2 separate regions of the Homo sapiens genome follow, and region 2 is linked to region 1. Evidence: promoter capture Hi-C in human tissues and cell types (Jung and others, 2019). All regions are on one chromosome and are shown on one strand. Each heading gives the region's core, a stretch centred on a gene start or on the middle of the fragment in contact. The rest is flanking DNA. Distances are from core to core; before and after follow the strand shown. Region 1 holds the start of UNC13A (unc-13 homolog A). Region 2 holds the start of B3GNT3 (UDP-GlcNAc:betaGal beta-1,3-N-acetylglucosaminyltransferase 3).

What was found. Contacts are between HindIII fragments. The study calls those that stand out against the background at their distance.
Region 2: the fragment with the promoter of B3GNT3 here is called in contact with the fragment with the promoter of UNC13A in region 1 in 4 of the 25 tissues and cell types used here (adrenal gland, lymphoblastoid cells, mesenchymal stem cells and 1 more).

What each region holds. Positions count from the first base shown.
Region 1 is chr19:17,686,784-17,689,989 of GRCh38, reverse strand. It overlaps UNC13A (unc-13 homolog A), which reads left to right and starts at 1,636. Exons shown (of 44, transcript NM_001080421.3): 1 at 1,636-1,812. The coding sequence starts at 1,791. RefSeq lists a silencer at 2,118-2,300 and enhancers at 1,534-2,494, 2,495-3,206. The HindIII fragment of the contact is 19,419 bases long and covers 1-3,206 here.
Region 2 is chr19:17,793,705-17,796,910 of GRCh38, reverse strand. It overlaps B3GNT3 (UDP-GlcNAc:betaGal beta-1,3-N-acetylglucosaminyltransferase 3), which reads right to left and starts at 1,773. Exons shown (of 3, transcript NM_014256.4): 1 at 1,705-1,773. RefSeq lists enhancers at 1,180-1,877, 1,878-2,575. The HindIII fragment of the contact is 34,117 bases long and covers 1-3,206 here.

The sequences.
Region 1 (3,206 bases), core at 387-2,886:
CACTTGAGGTCAGGAGTTTGAGACCAGCCTGGCCAACATGGTGAAACCCCATCTCTACAAAAAATACAAAAAAATTAGCTGGATGTGGTGGCGAGCGCCTGTAATCCCAGCTACTCAGGAGGCTGAGGCAGGAAGATCACTTGGAGGTTGAGGTTGCAGTGAACTGAGATGGTGCCACTGCACTCCAGCCTGGGCCACAGATTGAGACTACACCTCCAAAAAAAAAAAAATTACAACTGGTTTCACATGTTAACTCATGTAATACCTCCAGCAACCTTGTGAGGCAGGACTTGTTATCATATTCATTCTACAGGTGCGGAAACTGAGGCACGAGGAGGTCACAAGACCTGCCCAAGGCCATGCTTGTGATGAGAGACAGAGTTTGGTTTTGAACAATGGCCTCACTCAACTCCATGCACATTCTGCATTTATGAAGCTCTTTCATGTGGGCTGGGGGCAGGAGACCCTGTGGGGCTCAGCCTTTCATGCTAGTTTAGGTGCCAGTGATACAGCGAGCAGGTTGCAGGGCAAGGGGCCCACATGGAGCTGCCCAGTTTGATATGTGGGGAGGGGGCCAGGCGCAGTGGCTCAGGTCTGAATCCCAGCACTTTGGGAGGCCGAGATGGGCGGATCCCCTGAGGTCAAGTGTTCAAGACCAGGCTGGCCAACATGGTGAAACCTCGTCTCTACTAAAAATAAAAAAAATAAAATAAAAAAAAAAAGCTGGGCATGGTGGCATGCGCCTGTAGTCCCAGCTACTCGGGGAGGCTGAGGCAGGAGAATCTCTTGATCCCAGGAGGCAGAGGTTGCAGTGAGCCAAGATTGCGTCACTGCATTCCAGCCTGGGCTGCAGAGGGAGACTCCATCTAAAAAAAAGAAAAGTGGGGAGGAGTGGCAGAGTTTCGTTCGGGTCAGGGCCCAATCAGAGGAAGGGATAGGGGCTGGGGGAGTCCAGAGAGGAGAAACAAAGGCTCAGCTTGGGGCAGTCAGGGAAGCCTTCCTGGAGGAGAGGATATTCAGACAAGACATTGATGGATGAAAAGGAGTTCAGAGTGTGGGCAAGGACCCATGGGCTGGATGGCTTAGAGACATAGAGAGAGACCTAGACAGGATGCAGTAGAGCTGCAAAAAGACTTTACAGAGAGAGGCTAAGAGACACATGACTGAGAGAGCAGTGGACAGAGTCAGAGGAACAGAGACCCAGGGAGAGAAAGAGACCAGGCAGTAGAGTTAGAGAGACAGAGACGTAGAGACAGAGGAAGAGAGATACTCAGAGAACAGGACCATCTGCCCGGTGCTGGTGCCGGGCGTACACACAAGAGCTTGCATTTGCCTGTACTTGCTTGAGTATTGCAGGGAGGCGTTTGCCCAGGTTACCAGGGCAGGAATGTCCATGCATGGGTGGCGGGGGCACGTGCACCATTTCAGTGCAGGTGAGGGTCTGCACAGGAGGAAACCTGCTTGGGGGCCGCCGTCGCCCCTTGTCCCCCTGCAACGAGGAGGTGTGGGGCGAGGCGCCCCTTCCCGGAGCCAGGCCCTTTAACGCCCCCCCAGCCCGCAGCGCCCCCGCCCCATCAGGCGTCCCTGGGCTCCGCCTGCCCGCCCCGCATCAGCGCCACGTCAGGCGCTGTCCGCGCCCCCGGTGCTGAACCAAGATGGCCGGTGGCGGCCGGGCCCCGGCGTGAGCCAAGCGCGGGCTGCAGCCGGGAGATGCCCCAGCCCAGCGGCCGCTGAGCCCGACCCGACAGAGCCGGCCCGGCCGCCTCCGGCCCACCTGCGAGCTCGGAGACATGTCTCTGCTTTGCGTTGGAGGTAGGAGGCGAGGCTGGGGGTCGGGGGACCCGTGTGGACGCGGGCTGGGGTCGGGGTCCGCGTGGATGCGGCTCCCAGGGGGTTCCTGGGGGGTGACCCGAGTCCAGGTGGCTGGACTTTTGAGAGGGGTAGCCCTTGTCGACGCAGCTGGGCCCCGGAGGGGGTGATCCGTGTAGACGCGGCAGGGCTCTCGGGGGTCCTGGTGGCCGCTGCTGGAGGGGTCGTGTGGACGCGGCTGAACGCGGAGGCCCGTGTGGACGTGGACGGGTATCCGGGGTTCTACCCGGAAACGATCTAGACTGGGGCGTCTGTGTAGACCAGGTTTTTAGAGGGTCAGTGAGGAAGAGTCTGGGCTCGGTAGTTTGATTGAAGCCTGCAGGGGTGCTTGGAAGGGGTCTGGTGTTGTGGGCTGGGTTACGGGTCCTCATGGACGCGGACCCGGCTGGAAATTCGAAGGAGAGTGCGGTGGGAGGGTTCTCCAAGCCGTGGGGATGTAAGATATAGGTAGAGGGGCTTGGCCATCAGGGCATCCACGAGTTCTAGGACTCTCCCAGCCCTAGGTGTAAAGAGGACTGGAGTGGGGGGAGTGTGGAGACAGGAGACCCCTCCCAGCGTCCAGAGAGGGCTGTGACTGGAGGTCTGGGGGCGCTTTTCCAGTTAACTCTTTGGCCTCCCGAGTGAGGGGGTTGGAGGAATGTCCAGAAGGTCTTCCCGCTCCCTGCCCCCTCCGGTTCTCCCAAACACGTTTCAGGGCCTTCTCGGCAGGGAGCCTACTTCTTGGAAGAGCAATGTCTCCTGGTCCCCCTCCTGGCCCATCCTCACCTCACCCACTTTGCACTGGAGAGAGGGAGGGAGGGAGACGTGAGGTGGGGGGGGAGCTATTTTGGGGCCAGAACGCCATCTGCACAGAGGCCCACGCCCAGGCCCACGCTCTGCGTTGGGGTTGGAGGAGGGAGGGAGACGTGGGAGGGGCATGACCCCCCACCCCACACCTTTATGGCTCTGGGGTCGTGGGGAAGCCAGCCCAACCGAACCCAGGCGTTCTGGGCACTCCCGTTTGAGAAATCAAACTCTGGGAGACCTTGGGCGGCAGGGGTGGATGTGGACCGCCGTTCCACGCCTACAGAGCTCTGAACCCCTGGTTCTTAAGGACTGGGGTCCCCCCGTCACTCCCACCCATTTCAAGAAGGCTGGGGTGGGGGAAGGGGTGTGTCTGCCAAGCCTGAGACTGCAGGCTTCGGGAGACCTCGGGCGACAGGAAGCGTGCGTGTGCTGAACTCCTGCTGCCTGGACACAGGGTGGGCAGGCCGGGGAGCCGGGAACCGCCCCCGCCGCCCCTCCTCCTCCCTCCCCTCCCCCTCGGCCGATTCATTCACAAACCCTGCCCCGCCCGC
Region 2 (3,206 bases), core at 524-3,023, 110 kb before region 1:
GGGGTTGGGGGAGTGAGCAAATTCCTGCTTGCTCTGGGCCTCAGAGGCTGGTGGCAGGAGGAAATGTCACTCAGTGAGCCCTTACTTGCTCCTCCTGGGCTGACCTGGCTTGTCTGGATTCCTGAACTCTGGCCTGGAACAGAGAAGCACCAAGGCCCCCTTTTGGTTCTCCCACACCCAGAGCACCTGCCAGGAAATGCCACACCCTAGGGGTGAGAGTGAGGGAGGGTGTCCAGGCTGGACTGAGCAAACACCCAACTGCTCACCTAGGCCATATGGGGGCCCAGCTGCCTGACCTGGGGGCCACACCTCTTCCTCCTGACACCAGCCCTGCCTGGTGTCACCTTGAGAACAGGCCAGTGGGAGGAAGTGATGGCCCCCAGGGCTGGCCCCAGACCTAGACGGCCAGGTGGCTTCCCATGGGCCCTGAATCCCAGATCTGGACTGCAGGAGTCCCCCGCCCAAGTTGAGGGGCGACCTCAGTTTCCTCTTGAGAAGTGTCCATTTAAAAAAATCAGAGCTGGGCATAGTGGCTCATGCCTGAAATCCCAGCACTTTCAGATGCCAAGGCAGGAGGATTGCTTGGGCCCAGGAGTTTGAGACCAGCCTGGACAACATAGTGAGACCCCGTCTCCACACACAAAAAAATTTTAAAATTAGCTGCCTGTGGTGTGCACCTGTAGTCCCAGCTACTCGGGAGGCTGAGGTGGGAGGATCACTTGAGCCCAGGAGGTTGAGGCTGCAGTGAATACAGTGCATGGAGCCACTGTACTCCAGCCTGGGTGACAAAGTGAGTCCCCCACCTCTACAAATAAAACAAACAAACAAAAAGTTTAAATCTGACCCAGAGGAAAAGATGGTCGGGATTCTTGGAACAGGAGTGAATCTGAACAGTGGCTACAGACATAATTAATATAATTATGATGACAGCTGACTGTCCCTGGGCACCCACTGAGTGGCCACAGCTCCTATCCACTCAACTCATCCTCGCCAAGGTCCCATGCCATGAGACCCCCCCTTAACACACAGGGAAACTGAGGCTCAGAGACCTAACGCCAGTCACGCAAGGGCCCCCAGTGGCCAGCAGTACACCTCATCACAAAAATTTCCTTTGACTAAACGCTTCGGGCATCCTCATCCCAGCTGGTTCATTGTTCCACCTCACGGAGGGGAAACTGAGGCCGGTTCAGCAATGTGTCCATGCCACGCAGCCAGGGCCCCTGGAATGCCGCCCAGCCACCTGGCAGGGCCTGCAGCACCGGAACCGCAGGGAGAGACTGGGGGTCACCTGCAGTTCCCAAACCCAACCGGGGACCCCAGCGCTGGCTTGCCCAGATACTCCCAACCAAGGGGCCAATAATCTCAACAACACAGGTAACAGTAACAGCCAAGTCTGACTAAGCGGCATCCGCCTCGGGGGTCTGATCCCGCCCAATCTGGGAGGGGCGCCGGGGTCCCGGGTCGCCAGCTGTGGGGGAGGCTTCCTCCCCGACCCAGGTCCGAGCTGGCCTTGGGAACGCCGGAGACAATTACGGATGGGTGAGGGCAACCGGGTTCTCGAGACTCGGGGCTCCCGAATGTTCCCACATCTGCAGGGTATGCGCGGTGGAGACCGGCAGGGGCTTCTCCAGAGCCACAACTTCCCCACCCCCAAACCCCCACCACTGGGGTCCGCCAGATCCTCCGGGGGCTGCCGACACTCACCCCCAGACGACAGTCCCGCCTCTGCCCCTCTACCTGCTCCTCTCAGCTCGCGAGCCGAAGAAAGAGTTTTTACCTGAGCCAGAGCTCCCGCCCCTCTCCCGCTTCCTCCCTCCCACCGGGCCTCACGCCTTCCTGCCTCCCTCCGCCTTGGCCGCTTGCCAGTCCCCCTCTTCCCAGCTCGGCTGAGTTTCCTGGTGGCCCAGGCGAAGTTCTCTGCCGGCTCCTCCCTCCCCGGCCATGCCTCTTCCCCTCTCCGGTCCCGGCTGCCACCTCTGCCATCCCGCTCTTGCCACCCTCGCCCCTCTCGGGGCTCACGACCCCACCTTGGGTCTGGCCCGCTGCTAGGGAATGAGCTCCCCGTGGCTGGAGATGAACAAGCAGCGCCTTGCGGGTTCCTGGCACAGAGCCCGGTCAGCGTTGGCCCACGTGTGTTCCGTGAAGAAATGATTGGATAAGCCCATGGCGATAAGGAGGGAGGGAGGCAGGTTAAACCTTGCGGCACCTCTGCTCTCTGCGGGGAGTTCAAAGATTCCTGAAGCTGGGGTCGGCGCAGTGGCTCACTCCTGTACTTCCAGAGGCCGAGGGGGGCGGATCGCTGGAACCCAGGAGTTTGAGACCAGCCTGGGCAACATAGTGAGATTCCATCTCTATATTGAAAATAATTCCAGGACCCGAAAACCTACGATGTGCCCCCAGACATCCAGATGCCACCTGCTGGCATTTGGAAGGGTTCTGGAAGTCAACAATCAGACAGATTTGTAGTCTTTTCTTTTTCTTTTTTTCTTGTTTTGAGAGACAGGATCTCGCTTTGTCACCCAGGCTAGAGTACAGTGGTGTGATCTCCGCTCGCTACAATGTCGACCTCCCCAGTTCAAGCAATCCTCCCACCTCAGCCTCCCGAGTAGCTGGGACTACAGGCACCCGCCAGCATGCCTGGCTAATTTTTGTCATTTTTCTAGATATGGGGTTTTGATATGTTGCCCAGGCTGGTCTTAACTGTGGGCCTCAAGTGACCTTCCTGCCTCAGATCCCCAAGGTGCTGGATTATAGATGTGAGCCACTGCACCTGGCCTCAGATTTGTAGATTTTTAGGGTTGGGTTGGCTAGGATTCGAACCCTGCCCTGTGCTGCCTCTGAATCTCTAGGAGATTCTAGCCTGGACCCAGCGTTGGGAGCTCTGGGGTTGGGGAAGTCCAGGTGTGTGAGCTGGGCTATGGTTTCAGGAAACCCCTCCTTCCTCCTTCATCCCTGTTTCTTCCCGAGGAGGAAGCCGAGGTGTATATGTGGCCTGTCTGTGCCTCAGTTTCCTCACCTGTAAAATGTAAGAAATAGCCCCTGGGTACTCTGGATGGGAGAGGTCTGGGGAGTGAACCCTCAGAGCAAATGCATGATTAAAACTGTATGGAGGGCAATTACCGGAAATGTCATAGTGTCAAATGTGGCACTACTGGCCTCGGTTCTGGATGCACACACTTTCTTACTGTGGTACATCCTTGGACTTT